Linked DNA regions of Homo sapiens: region 1 is linked to region 2. Evidence: promoter capture Hi-C in human tissues and cell types (Jung and others, 2019). All regions are on one chromosome and are shown on one strand. The core of a region is centred on a gene start or on the middle of the fragment in contact, and the rest is flanking DNA. Distances in the headings are between cores, read along the strand shown.

The links. Contacts are between HindIII fragments. The study calls those that stand out against the background at their distance.
Region 1: a contact is called between a fragment that was not itself captured here and the fragment with the promoter of COL6A3 in region 2, in 1 of the 25 tissues and cell types used here (IMR-90 fibroblasts).

Annotation. Positions count from the first base shown.
Region 1 is chr2:237,695,597-237,699,710 of GRCh38, reverse strand. The region is part of intron 1 of LRRFIP1 (LRR binding FLII interacting protein 1); the gene reads right to left. Among named protein-coding and RNA genes, the nearest start is that of LRRFIP1, 70 kb to the right of the region's middle. RefSeq lists a silencer at 1,305-1,354 and an enhancer at 2,418-2,627. The HindIII fragment of the contact is 4,703 bases long and covers 102-4,114 here.
Region 2 is chr2:237,411,402-237,415,584 of GRCh38, reverse strand. COL6A3 (collagen type VI alpha 3 chain) reads left to right here and starts at 1,421. Exons shown (of 44, transcript NM_004369.4): 1 at 1,421-1,632. The HindIII fragment of the contact is 4,662 bases long and covers 1-3,169 here.

The DNA of each region.
Region 1 (4,114 bases), core at 1,204-3,703, 280 kb before region 2:
CCTGCGATGGGAAGAACTTTTCCCTTGACTGCTCAGGAAGATAGAAAAACCACTGTTTTGGCCGGGTGCGGTGGCTCACGCCTGTAATCCCAGCACTTTGGGAGGCCGAGGCAGGCGGATCATCTGAGGTCAGGAGTTCAAGACCAGTCTGACCAACATAGTGAAATCCCATCTCTACTAAAAATACAAAATTAGCCGGGCATGGTGGCGCATGCCTATAATCCCAGCTACTCAGGAGGCTGAGGCAGGAGAATCACTTGAACCCGGGAGGCGGAGGTTGTAGTGAGCCGAGATCTCACCATTGCACTCCAGCCTGGGCGACAGAGCGAAATTCCATCTCAAAAAAAAAGAAAAAAAAAAAAAAGAAAAGAAAAACCACTATTTTTAATTTTTGGATTTACAAACTGATTGCAACTTACATATAAACTCAAAATATGTTTTACACAGTTCAAATATACATGAACTATTCCAGGAATGCAATCGACATGGAAATTGAAGGAAGATGATGATACTTGGCTTTGTTCAGAACTTTCCTGAGAGTTAGTCAACTTTGTAGAATGTCACGTCATAGACAGCAACATGAGGGGTGGTGTGTGGGTCTCAGTGCAACACACCTGTGTCAGCCTCCCTGTGACGCCAGGCACAGGTGTGTGCAGGTCTCATCACTGCATTCAACTGCTGGTGTACTTGGTCTTGAGTATTTCTATATCAAAATTCTTATTATGTTACTATAAACTACCTGTATTTTATTTTTTAAGGAAATGTTATATTGACTCGAAATTATGTGCGCTGGTTGACTTTCTCACCTATGCATTTCATTTCAGGCTAGTAAGGAAGTTAAGGAACTTGTAAAAAGACAGGGTTGAGAACCACAGCTTCAGAACTCCAGTGTGGATCTCTCGTCTCTCCATCACACTGTATGAACCAGCCCCGGCACAATTCAGAGCACAGGTCTGGGTGCCTGGTGCTCAGGCCATCATGAAGATTTGGATGGCATAAAGTTAGAGATCAAAGCCTAACTGATTACTTAAAACACTATGTTTCCATCAAAATTAACTCAGACAAATTATGGAGTAGACTGAAATTACCATGAAAGTTTACGGTAAGACGGCCACCTTCAAAGAAGGCTTTAGCTTACAAGGCTGCTCCTGGCCGGGCCCACAGGCCCCAGGAGCCAGCACACTGTCCTCTGCACTCGGGGGACCTGGCAGACAAGTCCAAGAAATGCTGGGTGCCGACTGCTTCTCTCAGCTATGGCTGCACTGTTCTCAGTAAAGGTCTGAGTTTATGCAGGTGCAGACTGTCAAGAAAGGAGTCTGAAGACCCAGCCACAGCCTCCAGCTTGGGCTCTGTCACCTACAGTTATGTGAGCCTGGATAAGTTACTCGGTTTTTGAACCCCAGCCCTCATTAAAGAAGTAGGAGGGGACGTAATCTTTAAGAGCTTCCTTCCCCTCTGAAATTCTTTGGGTTCATGCCAGAGGTGAATTATTTGTACACTGAGATTGTCCACAGACTGTGTCTGTTTTGCTACTGGAAATCTCCAGGCTTTGCTTTTCAGAATAATAAGCTTCTTTAAAGTCCTTCGCATCCTAAAATAGCAAACGTATTAATCGGGAACAAAATGATTGATGTTACTTTATTGATGACTCACACATTGACCTATTCAAACCTCACAACACAATCTTGGGCTTAGCAGCTACTCCCACTGGCGCTAAGAAATAAATACGCTATACAGTATCTTCCATGCAAGTGAACTTCTACTCTTGCTGTTAATACATTTCTTGCTTTTCCTGAGATGAATGAATCTTCATATTTCCTTCAATTGCCTCAACATGATGGAAATACAAGAACCATGACTACCACTAACAGAGACGTGCGGGACTGAGAGGCGAGGGCGGCTGGGCCTCCCCTGTGCCGTTTCCTCTCCAGGTGACAGGTTTCCCTCCAGGCAGCACGTCTGGGCTCCACTCCCTTCACCTTTGCCTGCTCTGCTCAAGACTGTCCTACAAACCCCAGACCTCTAGGGTTTCACAAAAACATTTAAATTGTTTCCTCTGAGAAGAAGGCTGAAAGCTCCACCAGCACCAGGGCAGCACACAGCAACTGACAATCTTTCCTATATTCAGTGGATATTCCCTGGAACCAGCTATAAAAGAAACAGCAGCTGTCATGTTTATCCTCCATGAACTTATCTACTTGGATGAGGTAGGGGAGGAGTTACATCATACCCAGAAAAATAAAAAGGCTTAAATCACAGCAGCTCTCAGGTGTATGCCGACATAAGCAGTAGTTAACATTTTAGCATGGTACAAAAATAGCAAAACAAGTTTCACAGCTATTTCATTTCTACCATTATTTTCCTTATGTAGAAAAGTAAAGCTCATTGGGCCGGGTGTGGTGGCTCATGCCTGTAATCCCAGCACTTTGGGAGGCCGAGATGGGAGGATCACTTGAGGTCAGGAGTTTGAGACCACCCCGGCCAATGTGGTGAAACCCCATCTCTACTAAAAATACAAAAATTAGCCGGGTGAGGTGGCAGGCACCTGTAGTCCCAGCTGCTTCAGAGGTCTGAGGCAGGAGAATCGGTTGCACCTGGGAAACGGAGGTTGCAGTGAGCTGAGATTGTGCCATTGCATTCCAGCCTGGGCAATCAAGCACGACTGTCTCAATAAAAAAAAAGAAGGAAAGTAAGTTCGTTCTTTGAATGTTCTCTTCTGTCTGGAAATTACCAGGCAGAGAACAGAAAAGTTTGACAGAGTGAAGACTTCCCAGTATGCATTCAAGACAAGGACTTCTGTCCTAAGAGGCAGCTTTGGTAAAAAGAAATCCTTCAGCCCCAATACTGGGGTATGAGACAGCAGGGCTGCCAAGAAAAGCTGACAACAGCGACAAAAGCAGCAGCAGCAGCCGTGGCAGCCACAGCTATATCTTGCACATTTACTACCTGCCAGCCCCTGCCTGCAGCATTGCATACAGTGGTGACAGTTATCAGTACCAGTTCCGAGTCAGCAGGCCTGGGTCTGAACTGGCTCCACTGCTGACTAGCTGTGAGGGCTTGGAAAGTCCCTGACCTTTCTGAGCCTCAGTTTCCTCTTTATCTGAAAAACTGAGAGAAAACGATCTGCTCCCCATGAGGTTACAGCAAGGGTTAGAGAAGACCTTCACATAAAACACCAGGTGGGCGCAGCAGGGGTTTGGTAAATATTAGCTACTTTCACTACTTAGTGTCTTCTTTGACAGCTACTGACCTAAGAGTATAAATCCGGTTCAGAGAAGTTTAGAAGCACGATGAGAAGACAAGCATGCTAAGGCACCCACCTAGCAGAGAAGCAGGAAAAACTGGGGAAACTTCAGAGGAGGGGGACAGAGGTTCTCAACCCACAGGGAAAGCCCACTCCTTTCCCTAGGAAAATCACACAGCCACGTGCCACATACAGTAAAAAAGACAGAAGGATCACAGGTGGCGTTGCTTTGATCATCTTCATTACACAAATAAATGAAACATTTTGGTTAAAATTAAGAGTAAATCTTCATTATAGTGATTTAAGATAAATTACTTCTCTACTACAAAGTAGTTATACTTTAGATTCAAGGGAAAACTACTTACCTAGTTTTAAAGTTGTAAAGTTACAATCCCAAGGAGAAACCACTGGAAACACTGGCCCTTTCCAAAATGAATGAATGAGTCTCGGAATACATATAATTTCTGTTGCCAGGTGTGTGTGTGTTTTGGTTTATTGTTTTGGAATCTGGCCTGGGGCAGGGGGATTATACTACTGGTCTATAATCAAATACATGGCAATTTTGAATGATTAAATCTTGCATGTAGTCAAAATATTTAATTTGGGAGAAAGAAACGAATTTACTTAATTTTATCTAGGTAGTCTGAATAATAAAAGTTCTAGTAAGTCCATTCCATGAAAACAAGCTTCTTTATTTAAAAAAAAAAAACAAAAAACAAATTTGGGCGGCCTCCAGTAATAACAGTGAGGTAATAAAAATCCTCTTCTCCTGTCCCATGTCTAACACGTAGTGAGATGTAATGGACTTACTGATTGGTGAAGAGGTTGGTAATCTAAACATTATGGCCTCTGGGGCTTCAAGATCACTCC
Region 2 (4,183 bases), core at 172-2,671:
GGTTTGGAAGGATCTCTCAGTCAAAAAGAACCTTTCGGATGTCTCTTGATATTTCACATTAATGGACTTTTCATAAGGACCACATGATGGGAGAGCAGTGAGAAGTTTGGGGATGGCCAAAGCTGGGTTGTCATTTGAGCTCTGTTACTAACCCAGACTGGACAATGACGATGTCACTTACTCTCTCGGAACTTCTTTTCTTTTCTTCTTTTCTTTTCTTTTTTTCTTTTTTCTCTTCTCTTCTCTTCTCTTCTCTTCTCTTCTCTTCTTTTCTTTTCATTTCTTTTCTTTCTTTCCTTTTTCTCTTTTTTGGAGTCTCACTCTGTTGCCCAGGCTAGAGTGCAGTGGCGCCATCTCGGCTCACTGCAACCTCTGCCTCCTGGGTTCAAGCAATTGTCCTGCCTCAGCCTCCCAAATAGCTGGGACTACAAGCGCCTGCCACCATGCCTGGCTAATTTTTATATTTTTAGTAGAGATTTAGTAGGGGTTTCACCATGTTGGCCAGGCTGGTCTCCAACTCCTGACCTTGTGATCTGCCTGCCTTAGCCTCCCGAAGTGCTGAGATTACAGGCATAAGCCACCGTGCCCAGCCTGTTTCTTTCATCTGTAAAATGGGACCACAATTTCACCTAATAAAAGAAGACATCTTTCTATTTAAAAGGGCTTAGGGTGTTGATGTTTGTGATAAAGGAGAGAATGTATATTGAAGTGTTTTGAAATGTGCAAAGCTTTCTAGAAACAGAAGTTCTTACTCAAGTATTTTCCCGAAGCTTTGGCAAGATAACCATTTTTATTACCCCGTCTGTGCCTAGAATGGGCCTATAAGCGCCACAATCAGAATCATTAGATATAGAAATTAAGAGAAATGTAGCCTCCTTTTTTTTGCCGGTGAACAGAGCTTTGGTTAACAGAAAACCAAGGCGATTTTAATTGCTGGTTTTTCTATTTGAAGGGGGAAGTTATTAGTAGAAGTCTCAATTCAGAAACTTCAAGAAGAAATGGGAGGGTGTGGTGAGGGTAAGCGGGGGACTGCATTTCCTGTTTTCCTTTCAGATGGTGTTGGAAAACATTGCAGGAAAACCATGGATACCCACGAAGAAATTCCAAAATTTATTCTTTTTGACGCCAAGGGCCCAGCCCAAAAGGTGACGAGTAGGAGTGGTCAATTTTTTTTTTTAAGAGTTGGGGCTTGCAGGAGTCCAGCTAAACGCTTGTAGGGTGAAGACAGAATTCAGAGGGTGACATCAGCCTGAGCGGGGGCCAGAAGAAACAGAGTGGAGGAGTCTGGTTTCATTTACAGTTTTGGGTCAGTTCTGCAGTGAGGAGGGGGAGAGGAGGGGTCCGGGAGGGAGGAGGAGGAGGAGGAGGAGCTGGAGGAAGCCCTGACTGGTATCCCTGGCCCCAGTCCAGTTTGGAGCTCAGTCTTCCACCAAAGGCCGTTCAGTTCTCCTGGGCTCCAGCCTCCTGCAAGGACTGCAAGAGTTTTCCTCCGCAGCTCTGAGTCTCCACTTTTTTGGTGGAGAAAGGCTGCAAAAAGAAAAAGAGACGCAGTGAGTGGGAAAAGTATGCATCCTATTCAAACCTAATTGAATCGAGGAGCCCAGGGACACACGCCTTCAGGTTTGCTCAGGGGTAAGTGTGATTTCTCTTCTGTTTTTCCAGGTTTGGGGCTAGAAGGAAATGCTCTTAACCTGAAGTGATCCTTTCTAGGTAGCGTTAGTGGCTCTTACGTTCATGCTGATCGCCAGTTTTCTGTACATGTTTTAGGTCTCTGGAAGATTCCGCTGATTTTTCTTTCTCACTTTATGGCAATGGGATTTCCTTAAATTGGTTAAGGTCATGATTGCCTAAGAGTGTGAGCACTTTTCCACCGCGTGTCTGTGGCTGCTACACGCGCCCTGTGCATTCCGGGCGGCAGTGTGTTTCGGCCCATGATTTATTTAAGTTACTGCCGCCTTCTAAAACCCATTCGGGATCCGCTTTGTTTGCAGAAGCGTCTTTGCTGAGGACTAGCATAGCTCCCTGCCGGGCGGCTCCGCTGGGAGATGTTCTCTGAGCTCTCTGGGTGGTGACACTAGGTCAGGGTGCAACAACCTGCATGGGTTTTCTGCCCAGGGCCGCCCATGGGAAGGTCCTGGTGGAGCACATTTGCTGCTTTCACAAGATTGGAGTAACTCTGGTGCTCAGGATCAGGGCCAAGTAAAGGGTCGCTCAGTCATTGCCGTCAAGCTTTCGTCTTTCCAGGAACCTGAAGTCTCTATTGGAGACTTTGTCCCTTGGGGTTGCTTAAAGGAGTTGCAGGGGTCAGAGGAGAAGAAGGAATTGGGCATTTGGGCAGCATGCTGAGTGTCTAAGGCAGGGCCCCTGGGGCTGCAGGGCCAGCCCATGCTGCACAGAGGTGAGGCCAGTGCCGAGCTGGGAGGCCCCGAGGGCTGTTCTCTGGCCCGGAGGATGCAGGGTGGGGCTCGGGCCCTCTCTTGCTGAGGATGGACACGTTCGCTGACAGTGGCCAGCCTGTTTGGGGAACCTGTTTCAAGGGGCCTACTATGTTGGATAATGAACGGGTATTGAAGTATGGGTGGGGTCACTGGGAGGGACTAGGGAGTGGTTAAAGAAAAATCTGCTTCCACAGGAAGCCCCAGGAGCCAGTTTCGAGGCCGGTGCAGACCCCAGGAGCAAACCCCTCTGAGCACAGGGGAGTCTGCTGTGCTGGATGGGGAGGCAGGGCTGTGGCCCCGGCTGACTGGCTTCTCTCCCCACATACAGCTCACCCCGGCGAGGACCACAGGGTGCTAGAGCTGCAGGGTGCTCAGAGCTCACGGGGATGGTGGATGCTCAACCTGGGATCCCCCAGCTCCCCAGGGTCCCATTCTTAATGCTGTAAAAAACAACCGAAATGGCTTTAAAATCAAAGTTACATTGCTCCTAAGCAAAACTATATTGAAAACTGAGTGGGTGGCCGTTGATGACATTACTGGGACTTCTGAGGTTTTTGTTGGGCTAAAGATAATGGAAGAGATTTTTGGTCAGAAGCCACTGATGCAGTAGTTTCCTGGTTTTCAAAATGAGCAACCAGGGGCTCTGAGATGCGGAATTCCTTGCCCAGGCCAGGGAGCGAGTGCCTGAGATGGCAGTGAAATCCTTCCCCATTGAAGGAGAGCAGACAAGCCAGTGACGGAGGATCCCAAATAACTCACATCTCGTTGGGAAAACTGCTTTGGGCTCACTAAGACTCTACCAATGAACCGAGAAAGAAGGGAGGTGGACCGTGGGGCGGGGGCATCGGTTCCGTGACCGGAATACCGGGGCTGGCCGCCCTGCTCAGGCCACCTCCTGGGGGTGGAGGGCGCTGAAGGAGGGGACCTGTATGCTCTTCTTTCTGAAGTGGGCTTGTAGCTGAGGATGAAAGCCTGGGTGGGGAGGCGTGGCTTTTACAAAGATCAGGATGTAGGAACAGCTGCCTGTCTGGACTTCTTTGTTTAGGGGGTTTCTTGCTACCCAGAGGTTTAGTTCTCTCCTTTCCTCACTCATGGTCGAGAGAAGCCAGGAAGCAGACACTGAGTGGAGCAGAGGGCTTGGGAAGGAATTCCATGTTGGGGTGAAGTGAGGCTGTCCTGGCTTTTCCTATCCAGGCATTGGAGGGTGTGGCTACAGCACCTTTCTGGGAGGTGGCTGGGGAAGCCTCTAGAATGTTAGCCCTTGGCCCCGCTCTTTCCCTGCTTGGCAGGGAGCGTGTTCCACCCCACTATAGTTGTGGCCCACAGGTGAGGGGACATGTGGCAAATGTCCAAACCTGGGGTCTGAATGATATTTTTGATACGAGGTAGGCACCTTTCTGAAAAATTGTCTTTACTTCACACTTCATTTTATTTCTAAAGCATTCAGGACTCAGCAAATTGCACTGACTTTATCATCAGTGCCTTTTGTGATTTCCTATCCTAGAACTTAATACGTCCCCGATGAGAAAGTAGGAAGAAGCTCCTCTCTTCAGTCGATTGTTGATTTATGGTTCCAATGAGGCTGCTCATCCTGACCTTAGTTTCAGGAACGGAACCCATAGACCTGGATGCCTAAAGCCAGCTTGAAACAAGACCGCCTTCTTTGGAAGCTTTGGAAGCTGGCAGTGACTTTTTGCCAGCGAGGTTTCATTTGTTTCCTTGCTCAGAGTGTTCAGACAACTGGA